3 separate regions of the Homo sapiens genome follow, and all the other regions are linked to region 1. The links are contacts of gene promoters, found by promoter capture Hi-C in human tissues and cell types (Jung and others, 2019). All regions are on one chromosome and are shown on one strand. The core of a region is centred on a gene start or on the middle of the fragment in contact, and the rest is flanking DNA. Distances in the headings are between cores, read along the strand shown. Region 1 holds the start of XPO6 (exportin 6). Region 2 overlaps GTF3C1 (general transcription factor IIIC subunit 1). Region 3 overlaps KATNIP (katanin interacting protein).

Region 1 (3,746 bases), core at 366-2,865:
GGCAGGGGTAAAATGGGTGAAACTGAGGAGAACAGCTCCACTCCTCGAGGTGCTCAACCACAGGCTAGGTGATCCAGTACTTACCAAGGGCTTACTATGTGCCAGGAGCTGGAGCAGATAAGGGTTCAAACAATTTGGTCTTTGAAGGAGCTGTGTATACCGCAATAGACAGATAAGGCTCAGAAATAATTACAAGAGCAAAAAGGCAAATGCTTAACAAAGAGATGTGGGTACACACATTTAGGGGAGTATTGAAAGTATCGGTCTAGAAAACGTGGAGATGTGGATACACAAAGAGATGTGAGTACACACATTTAGGGGAGTATTGAAAGTATCGGTCTAGAAAACGTGGAAGGTAGCTTCAGCAGAGATCAGAGCATGTAGAATAGCAGCCTCAGTGTCAAAAGATCACGACCATTCCTGACTTTGCCATCACCTGTGCAAGTGACCTCTGTAAATCGCTCTGTTTCCTCATATATAAACCTACAGCTAGATGAGATGTTTCTCCTACAATCACCCAGCTCTCTAAGTGTATTAGAGATGCCTAGGTTCAAAGTCAGATGCCTAGGTTCAAATCTTAACACTGTTAAAAAGTCGCTTGACCTTGAGCTGGGGAATTAATTGCTCCGTGCCTCAGTCTCCCCACTTCCGAACAGAGGGCTGGTGTGATCATTAAATACTACTGCACTGTCAATCACTTCGCGCAGGGCCTTGGCAAGTAGTAAGCCCTCAATAAACGATAGTTATTATCCGGAGGAGCTGCAGGAGGCAAACACCAGATGCAAGGGTTGTGCCTGCTGCGCTCCCAGGGCCCTCCCAGGCCTGAGCCATCATCCCTGGGGGGATGGGAGCGCAGGGCCGGGGCTGCACACTCTGCACGCATGTGTCACCGGCCAGGCTCCGCACGCGCCTCTCCCCGCCATGGGGAGAGCAGCGATGGCTCAGCAGCCCCGGGGCCCATTCCCACCCTTCCGGTAGGGCACCCCAGGAGGGAAGGGGGCTCCAATTCCACTTACCATGCTGGCCGGGGAGGGGGCGGCTCAGATGAGCTGGTTCTTGGGCTTCGGACACGTCCCGCTCGCACAGTTCAGGTCATGGTCCCGGCAGACTCGGGAAGTCCCCCACCCATGCAAAGACAACCCCTTCCCCACCGGGCCCCGAGGGGACCCTCTAAAAAGGGCAGGGCCGCCCGGGTCGCCTCATCGGGGGACCCCGAGACAATTCATCCAGACCCACCCGCCCCTCCCCAAGGAAACTGAAAAAGCAGGAAATGAGGCTCGGATGCCGGCGAGGAGGGCAGCTGCTCGGGACCCCCGCCCGGGCCCGACCCCCGCGGGGGAGGCTGCGGGCCCAGGCAGGGGCTCCCCGGCCTCCGCGGGCAGAGGTGGCGGCGGCCCCGGCCCCGAGGCTGAACGGGCGGAGGCTGACAGGCCTCGACCGCGCGGCCCAGGCGGCCGGCTCAGGGGAGAGGCCCGGGGGCCCGCGCTGTCCTCGCAGCCTCAACCCACACGGCCACTGCCGCCGCCCCCTAGAGCATCCTTGCGCGCGCCCGCCCTGGAGCCGCCCGCTAGTACCGCGCGGCCGCCCCCGACCAACAGCCCCAACGCGCCGGAAGTGGCGAGCGCCGGGCGGCCCCACAGCGCGGCCGCCGGGCTGCGGCGCTGGAACCGGACCAATCCGGAATCGAGCGGGGCGAGCGGGGGGAGCGGGCGGAGGGCGGAGGGCGGGGCTGCACCTGACGGCTCCCACTGGCCCCGCCTTCTTACCACGCCCTCTCTTGCCCCGCCCCCTGCGCCCACCGCCCGTGCGTCCACGCGGGCCGGCAGCCATCTTGGTAAAGGGAGCCCGGGCTGCCATTTTAGTAAAGGCGTGGTTTCCCTTTCGCTTTTTTCGCCCATTCATTCCGCTAAAATTTTAGTGAGTGCCTTTTACGGGCGGAGCATCGAGCTGGCAGCGTGACGACACGCGGCCCTATGGAGCTTACATTCATGCAGTCCACACACTCTTGCCCGACTATATTCCAGGCCCTGCTGTGGATGCTAGGACAGGGGAGATAAACGTAACTTCGATAGCCAAGGTGCTGAGAGAGGCAGAGAATGTGTTGGATTCCTGTTCCCATCCTCCAATCCACTTTACTCGTGAAAGTGCTCATCTTTATTTTGTTTTATTTTTGGGGACAGGTTCTTGCTCTGTTGCCCAGGCTGGAGTGCGGTAACACAATCATGGCTCACTGCAGCCTCAACCTCCTGGTGCGCCACCATGCCCAGCTAAATTTTTTTATTTTTTGCAGAGGTGAGGCCTCCTTTTGATGCTTGGGCTGGTCTGGAACTCCTGGGCTCAAGCAGCTTTCCTGCCTCAGCCTTCCAAAGTGCTGGGATTACAGGTATGAGTCATCCAGCCAGGCTGAAAGTGCTAATTTTAAGAAACAGTCAGGAAACTATCCCAAACAGCTGAGGTTGAGCCCGCGGGTGTGCCTACTACATAGATTGGAGCAAATCTATGTAACCCAATGGCCCTTGTCAACCTTAAATAACGAGATTGAGAAAATAGTATTTAAGTATAGGGTTTATTCAAGCCCGAAGCTTGAAGATGGCCCACCAGAAGTATAGTCCAATTAGTGGCAGTTACAAATGGGGTTTCCTTGTTTGTTTGTTTGTTTTTAAGACAGGGTCTTGCTCTGTCGCCCAGACTAGAGTGTAGTTTGTTGTTGTTGTTGTTTGAGACGGAGTCTCGCTTTGTCGCCCAGGCTGGAGTGCAATGGTGCAATCTCAGCTCACTGCAACTTCCGCCTCCCGGGTTCAAACGATTATCCTGCCTCAGCCTCTCGAGTAGCTGGGACTACAGGCACCCACCATGATGCCCGGCTATTTTTTTTATTTTTAGTAGAAACGGAGTTTCACCATAGTGGCCAGGCTGGTCTTGAACTCCCGACCTCAGGTGATCCGCCAGCCTCGGCCTCCCAAAGTGCTGGGATTACAGGCGTGAGCCCTCCCGCCTGGCTTCAAGTGGGTTTCTAAGGAAAAAAGAGGCATAACATAAGGTTGAATAGGAATGATGAGAAAGGGGGAAAAAATAACATAAGCTATTGCCTATACATTGTTCTTTGTATCACAAATTTCAGGAACCTGAAGGAAATGGGGGAGGCAGCTAGTCTGGAACAAAATATCTTTAAACAATTGTCCCCGAGCATGTGGAGGTGGGAGTGTGCCCGAACTCCCATACACAAGTCTCAGTGGACCTGACAAATTTTGCATACTTCACATAACTCAGACTTCCCTGAGCTATTTTTCTTTCCTGTCAAACCTCAGTGTGATCTGAATCAATTCACCCAGAAGGACTGTTAAAACAAAGATTACTCGCTCCACTCATAGACTTTCCCATCCAGTAGGTTTGAGATGGGGCTGAATAATTTGCATTTCTAACAAGCTCCCAAATGAAGCTGATGCTGCAGGTCTAGATACCACATTTGGAGAACCACTGATACAACACTTTACCACTGAAAGCAATAGCTTTCAGGGGTTTTTTAGTTTTTTGTTTGTTTGTTTGTTTGTTTGTTTTTGGAGAAAGGGTCTCACTCTGTTGCAGTGACATGATCATGGCTCACTGCAGCCTCAAACTCCCAGCCTCAAGCACTTTTTTTTTTTTTTTAATGAGACAGAGTTTCGGTCTTGTTGCCCAGGCTGGAGTGCAATGGCATGATCTCGGCTCACCGCAACGTCCGCCTCCTGGGTTCAAGCAATTCTCCT
Region 2 (3,746 bases), core at 414-2,913, 670 kb before region 1:
GAAAAGAGCAGGGGTAGAGGGAGCTGGGCTGGGGGAGGGGAGGAGGAGGAAGGGATGCATCCAGATCACAGCCTTAGACAGGGCCACCATTTCTCACCTCCTCCGAGATGAGAGTAGACAGGGAAGAAATGTGGAAAAGTCTGCAAGTCAAGAAAGAAGGTGGAAGTTAGCAGAGTTCACATTGCCCTGTAAAGTAGGAAGGAAGGCAGGAATGGAGTTAGGTGCTTGAAAAAAAATGATCATTTGGATTAGACACTCTGGGGAATTGGGATACTGACTGAGGATTCACAAGAGAATGGCTTGGCAGCACAGGGCCCAGGTAGGAAGAGAGAAAGGGCACCATTCAAGTGCTCAAGGACTGTGAGCACAAAGGAAAGAGAAAGGCAGGACCCGTGACCCCAGTGAAGAAGGCGAATGAAGGCCAAGAACTGGCGTAGTGCAGGGCTAGTGAACTCTGACAGACTCCAAGGTTGTGGGCCAGATCCAAGTGCTCTGACTACACATTCAAAGCACTCAGATTCCCAGGAATTTCTTTTTTCCTTTTTTTTTTTTTTTGTAGACAGGGTCTGACTCTGTTGCCTAGGCTGAAGTGCAGTGGCATGACCTCGGCTCACTGCAGCCTGCCTCTGCTTTCTGGGTTCAAGTGATTCTCATGCCTCAGCCACTACAGTAGCTGGGATTATGGGCATGTGCCACCACACCCGGCTAATTTTTGTATTTTTAGTAGAAACAGCGTTTTGCCATGTTGGCCAGGCTGGTCTTGAACTCCTGGCCTCAAGTGATCCACCTGCCTCGGCCTCTTAAAGTGCTGGGATTACAGGCGTGAGCCACCGTACCCGGCCAGATTCCCAGGAATTTCTGATGGTGCAAAATAGTTACCTGTCAAAGGCTTCCACCATTGTACAGCGAGGCTGCAAGGACTTGGTTCTGATGTCATTGGTAATGTTTTTCCTCTCCTTAAAGTAGCGGCATGAGCCCTGGATGCCATCCTTATTCTCTAAGATCATATGAATGGGGTAGACATCCTCCAAAGCCACCGGGTCCCTCCTAGACTCCAAAATTCCAGTTTCCAAATCAATTTCTTCATACCTAAGGAGAAAAACACAAATATCAAAGCCCAACTCAGCTTCAGATATAATGTGTGCTTGGCTGTGTTCTTTTGACAACCTCCAGCAGAGATCAGAGAGAAGTGAGATCAGTCAGTTTTCCTGCCTTATAAATGCAGATAATCTTGACAAGCAGGTTCCTGCCTTTCTATCCCACAGAACGCAGACCTTTCCAGGACTCCCCAGACTATTCCAGAAGCTGGGTGCTGGGACCTAAACCTCCTTATTGGCCAAGTCATGGGCTTTTGTTTCCCTCCAAATCTGGTACTCAGTCTCCAAACCACCAAGTTGGACGAAATGATTCAAGGCTTTCCTCCGCTTTTTTGAGATGGAGTTTTGCTCTTGTTGCCCAGGCTAGAGTCCAATGGCATGATCTTGGCTCACTGCAACCTCCACTTCCCAGGTTCAAGCAATTCTCCTGCCTGAGCCTCCCAAGGAGCTGGGATTATAGGGGTGTGCCACCACGCCCGGCTAATTTTGTATTTTTAGTAGAGATGACGGTTCACCATGTTGGTCAGGGTGGTCTCGAACTCCTGACCTCGGTGATCCACCCGCCTCAGCTTCCCAAAGTGCTGAGATTACAGGTGGGAGCCACCACAAGTGGCCAAAGCTTTCCTCCCTTTAAGATCTCATCTTTCCATCTCTCCTTAGTTATCTCTCTAATATCCTAACCCATTTTCATGGTTTGCATTACCGCCTGCATGTTAACAAGTCTCACCTTTGAATCCTCAGTCCTTTTTCTCCAAATACAGATCCAATGTCTTCACTTGTCTATTAAATGCCTCCCATTCCAAATATGATTACCTCTCCCCAGCTCCAATTAAGTCCCTTCTTTCCCCTCTTACTACCGCTTTCTTCCATGTGCCTCTTACAACACCATGGAGACATTTTTCATTTGTGCTTCTTTCATGCAGTTAGCCAAGCTTGTCAAGTTTTTTTTTTTTTGAAAAAAAAAAAAAATACATACATATATATATATATAATTTTTTTTCCCCTCACTATGTTGCCCAGATTGGTCTTGAACTACCGGGCTCAAGTAATCTGCCCACTTCAGCCTTGCAAAGTGCTAGGATTACAGGTGTGAGCCACCTTGCCTGGCTGCTTGTCGAGTTTTATTTTGAAATCTCACTCATATCCTACACTAGTCTAATTGCGGCTAAATCCTATGTACATGTTTCAGCCCTTTCCTTCCTTGCCCCCTCTGTGTTATCTGCACCATTTAACCCTCCATTCCTTTTTTTTAAGACTTGAGTTTTGATCTTGTCACCCAGGCTGGAGTGCAGTGGCGCAATCTCGGCTCACTGCAACCTCTACCTTCTGGGTTCAAGCGATTCTCCTGCCTCAGCCTCCCTAGTAGCTGGGATCACAGGCACCTGCCACCACACCCAGCTAATTTTTGTATTTTTAGTAGAGAGAGGGTTTCACGATGTTGGCCAAATGATCCACCTGCCTCGGCCTCCCAAAGTGCTGGGATTACAGGCATGATTCACCACACCCAGCCCAACCCTCCGTTCTTAAATGATCCTGTCTCCTCCCAAACTTCCAGAACACCACTCTGACCTGACTGTCCTCTACCTCTCCAGCCACACCGCCTCAGTCTTCTTTTGAAAGTCCCTCACCCTCCATCCAGCCTTGAAATGTAGGTGCACTGCAGAGCTATATCTCAAGACCTCCAACCACACTACACTCTCTCTTAGGGCTGATCTTAGCCAGCTGCTTTAATTACCAGCTGCTAGGAATGACTCACAGATGTCTAGCTCAGTCCCTCCCTCTGGCCTGCTTTCACTCCCACGAAGCCAGATGTTTACTAATTAAGACTCTTCACTTGGACAACTCAAAAGAACCTGAAGCTAAATGTGTCACATGTCTCTTCAGCAAAGTCCCCACCTCCCCCAGACTCAACCCCCACGCTGTTCTTCCGTGTTCCCAGCCTCAGAGATGAGAATCAGGGTTCGCTCAGGTGCCCAAACAGCAGCCTACTATGTCTTGACTGCCTGTGCTCTTCATCCCCACGCCCACCATGGTAAGCCAGACCATGACTAGATTACTAAAAATCTCTCAACTTCACTCTTTGCCCCTAGTCTGACCCTCTCTTCAGTGACTTCTCACTGTCCTTTTGATAAAGGATAAGCTTTTTTTTTGAGATGGATTCTCCCTCTGTCACCCAGGCTGGAGTGCAGTGGCACAATCTCGGCTCACTGCAGCCTCCACCTAGCTGGGATTTCAGGCGTCTACCACCACGCCCAGCTAATTTTTGTATTTTTAGTAGACATGGGGTTTCACCATGTTGGCTGGACTGGTCTTGAACTCCTGACCTCAAGTTATCCGCCCACCTCTGCCTCTCAAAGTGCTGGGATTACAGGCTGATAAACTCTTTAAGTAGGTTAAAAGACTTGATTCCAGTCCAATTTGGCTGGAATCTGAACTCAGACCTTCCTCAAAGTCTGGGTTCTTCCCTTGCTAGTTGACTTTTAGCATGCCACTTGACCCCTCAGGGCCTCGATTTTCTCTTCAGGAAAATGGGGAGAATATTACCCATCTCCTAAGGTTTCTGTAAAAATTAAATAACATGTTGTATTAAGGATCTTAGCACAGTCCTAGCTATTCCTCATTCCCTACCTCCAATTCCACACTTCAGCC
Region 3 (3,746 bases), core at 479-2,978, 540 kb before region 1:
GCACCTGTAATCCCAGCTGTTCTGGAGGCTAAGGTGGGAGGATCACTTGAACCCAGGAGGTGGAGGTTGCAGTGAGCCAAGGTGGTGTTACTGCACTGCAGCCTGGGTGACAGAGCAAGACCCTTCCTCAAAAAAGAAAAAGAAAAAGAAATGAGATAAGGTACATAGATAAGTCAGCTTAGTGCCTGATAATGTAACAGAAGCTTAGCAAGTAGTAGCTATTGTTTTTGATGTTACAGTTACTGATACTATTATTGCAAAAACTTCATGTTTGATGGTCGCCTGATGTCACTTTTCCTAGTTCAGCAGAAAGAGGAAGCTCAGGCATAGAAGGCATTAATTCACTGACCATCAAACCCCTGCTGCATTTCAGTCAGTGGTTCTTCTAGAAACTACCTTTAAGTCTTTGTATCAGCGTCCGTCCCTCCACCTTCTCCCTGGATCCCCAGTGAGGAGACCCATTTGTGTGCAGTCCCTGTCATCCGATCTCCACCTGCGGTGTTGGCAGCCTGGCCTCCATGCAGAGGGCTTTCTGTTGAAAGGGCTTGAACTTAACATTTTAAACACTGAACACTGAAATCAAATATAACAAGATTTTGAAGCAAAGCTATAAAGTATGTTTTTTCAGAGAAATTTCTGGATGATGGCTTCACAGCACCTGGTAGATCCCACAGCATGGTATCTCTTTGAAGTACAGGCAGATTGGCTTTCAAAGCGACCAGCCCAAGGTCCTCATCTTTCCAGATGGAAAGGTTTTGAACGGCTTCCTCCAGGGAATGTTGCTCCTTAGTTTGTCTCCCCTCTGCCCCTAGGACAGATGGTTTAGATCACGTGAGCATTATAAGGGTCTAGGTTCATCCAGTGTGAGCAAATGCATTTGTTTCCTTTGCGAAGAAGCTGCCAGCCACACCGAATCTAGGCTGCTCTTTTATATATATTTTCTTTGGGGAGAGGGAATTTTTTTTTTGTTTCATTTTTTAAGTTTTTAAAAATAGAGTTGGGGGTCTCACTTTGTTGCCCAGGCTGGTCTCGAATTCCTGGGCTCAAGCAATCTTCCCACCTCCGCTTCCCAAAGTGCCGAGATTACAGGCATGAGCCACTGCGCCTGGCCTATATATATTTTGCAAATACAATCATGGCATTTAAATTTCCATTAATTTAAAAGAAGAAAAAGAAACCAAATTGAAACAGGAGGAATTATTGAAATTCAAATTTCTTTATCACAGGAAATATTATTTCTTAAAATAGCCATCGGTTTAATACATTAGGAAATAAGAGGTTAGAGTTGCCATTTTTAAAAAACTCTAGTTTCCATTTGAGATGCATTTGGGGTTGACTTTCTGGTGTGGAAAATTAGGCCACCCACATTGCCTGCCCTCTCCTGATTTTTGTTAGCTAAGCTAAGGGCTTAGGTTTATAGCATTGCATTCTGGTCCATCTCCCTAATGTGCATAAATGCCTAGTATTTATTCAAACTTTAAGTGGCTACAGCGCTTACCATTAGACCTTTGATCACAGCTTGTCCATGCCTCTATCTTTATTTTGATTTCCTCTTTCATTGGTCTGGATTTTGTCACCTGGGTGATATTTTCTGAGAAGAGCTCATGAATGCCGTCTGTATTCCCTGGGTTTCTGGCTGTTTGAGATGGATGGTGTGTTACTTTCCAGTCTGGACCTCTTGGCTGGATACTTTATTCTCGAGTTAGACAGATGCTCCTCCGTTGTCTTCCAGCATCGAGTGCTGCTGTTTGTCATTGGCTTTTGGGAACCACATGTGTTCCAGGGATAGAGATGATTTTTCCAGGCAGCTGGCTGTCCAGGGTCCTCCACTCCACCATTCCCCGCCACTCCTCTAGGGAATTTATTTATTTGCAAGAAGGAGGGACAAAATTTAAACATAAATGTAAACGTATCATTTTTTTAAATTACAAAATTGGATGCCTGCTAATACTAAATAATTTTTTTAAAAACAAAGAAGAAAAGGAAAGTCCTGGAAAGGCTGTCAGAGAGATCATTGTTAATAGTTGGGTGCTGGCCGGGCGTAGTGGCTCACACCTGTAATCCAAGCACTTTGGGAAGCCACGGCAGGTGGATCACCTGAGGTCAAGAGTTCAAGACCAGCCTAGCCAATGTGGGGAAACTCCATCTCTACTAAAAATACAAAAAATTACTCAGGCATGGTGGTGTGTGCTTGTAAGCCCAGCTACTCGGGAGGCTGAGGCAGGAGAATCGCTTGAACCCAGGAGGCAGAGGTTGCAGTGAGCTGAGATCGCGCCACTGCACTCCAGCCTGGGCGACAGAGCAAGACTCCATCTCAAAAATAAAAATAAAAATAAAAAGTCAGGTGCCTATTTTTCCAGACTTTTTCTATGCATATATGCATACCTACATGTATAGAAATTAACAATGATTTTAAAAATTGAGTTCGTGTTATATGTACATTTTTCAACACGCTTCTTTTTACTTAAATGTATATCTTGATATCTGCCCAAAGAAGTACAAAAGTAGAGCTACCTCATTCTTTGTAAGAGCTGCCTGGGGCTCGGTGAACACCCGCTCTATTAGATATTTAATCCGTCTCTCATTGATAACCATGTGGACCATTCTCTATTATAAAGGATGCCTCAACGATCTTTGTGTACTTAGGACTAAAGGATACATTCCTGGAAGGGCTAGGTCAGAGGGTATGCATATGATTCATTTCTAGTCAGTCATGTCTGTCATCTCTGCCTCCAAAATAGATCTCGAGGCCTCCTCCCTGTCCCCACCTCTGCTGCCACCTTCCTCTTTCACCTGCAACTGCAGCAAAGCTGGTAGCCCTGTTTCCATCCTTGTCCCACCTCCTAAAATCCACTTGGTATCCAAGAGCCATAGAGATCTTTTAAAAGCAGAAATCAGGCCAGGCGCAGTGGCTCGCGCCTGTAATCCCAGCACTTTGGGTGGCTGAGGCGGGTGGATCACCTGAAGTCGGGAGTTCAAGACCAGCCTGGCCAACATGGTAAAACCCCGTCTCTACTAAAAATACAAAAATCAGCCGGGTGTGGTGGCGGGCGCCTGTGATCCCAGCTACTTGGGAAGCTGAGGCAGGAGAATCGCTTGAACCCGGAAGGCGGAGGTTGCAGTGAGCCGAGATCGTGTCACTGCATTCCAGCCTGGGCAACAAGAGCAAAAATCCGTCTCAAAAAAATAAATTAATAAAAAATAAAAGCAGAAATCAGATAACATTGTATCTCTGCCTAGCACCCTTCAGCAGCTTCTCATAGGGCATAGAACAAAATCCACACTCTTCCCTGAGGCCCACAAAGCCCTGTCCCCCGTGACTGCTGCCTCCCTCTAGGGAACACATGCCTTCCAGCCGTTCCTGCCTCCTGGCCTTTGTCTCTGCTGTTCCTACCCCCAAGACAGCCTTGTGCCCCAGACACTACCAGGTAGCTCTTCATCACTCAGCCTTCCCTGACCACCATTCATCAGGGCTTGCTCAGCCAGTCGCCCTGTCACATCATCCAGACAAGGGCTTTCTTCACAGTCCTGGCCACCTCTGAAATGCCCCTGTTTATATTTCTTTATGCATTGCCTGCCTGTCTCCTCCCGCCCCACACTGTATGCTCCTATAAGGCCAGAGGTTTGCCATCTTGCTCTGCACTGCTACCTCTGCCCTTAGCACAGCACCTAAGCACATGAGCATGCATGAAGCCTTAATGAATGGTGGTTGCCTTATTGTCTTCCCCATTGGTTGGGCCATGACA

What was found. The method cuts DNA at HindIII sites, captures the fragments that hold promoters and counts their contacts. A contact is called where the count stands out against the background at its distance.
Region 2: a contact is called between a fragment that was not itself captured here and the fragment with the promoter of XPO6 in region 1, in 1 of the 25 tissues and cell types used here (dorsolateral prefrontal cortex).
Region 3: a contact is called between a fragment that was not itself captured here and the fragment with the promoter of XPO6 in region 1, in 1 of the 25 tissues and cell types used here (dorsolateral prefrontal cortex).

What each region holds. Positions count from the first base shown.
Region 1 is chr16:28,210,350-28,214,095 of GRCh38, forward strand. It overlaps XPO6 (exportin 6), which reads right to left and starts at 1,616. Exons shown (of 24, transcript NM_015171.4): 1 at 1,017-1,616. The coding sequence starts at 1,019. RefSeq lists an enhancer at 736-1,734 and a silencer at 1,364-1,853. The HindIII fragment of the contact is 10,699 bases long and covers 1-3,562 here.
Region 2 is chr16:27,544,435-27,548,180 of GRCh38, forward strand. It overlaps GTF3C1 (general transcription factor IIIC subunit 1), which reads right to left. Exons shown (of 37, transcript NM_001520.4): 2 at 880-1,089. Among named protein-coding and RNA genes, the nearest start is that of GTF3C1, 3.6 kb to the right of the region's middle. The HindIII fragment of the contact is 4,315 bases long and covers 1-3,746 here.
Region 3 is chr16:27,668,877-27,672,622 of GRCh38, forward strand. The region is part of intron 6 of KATNIP (katanin interacting protein); the gene reads left to right. LOC107984874 (a long non-coding RNA gene) reads right to left here. Exons shown (of 3, transcript XR_001752113.3): 2 at 1,499-1,852; 3 at 1-808. Among named protein-coding and RNA genes, the nearest start is that of KATNIP, 120 kb to the left of the region's middle. The HindIII fragment of the contact is 4,430 bases long and covers 1-3,746 here.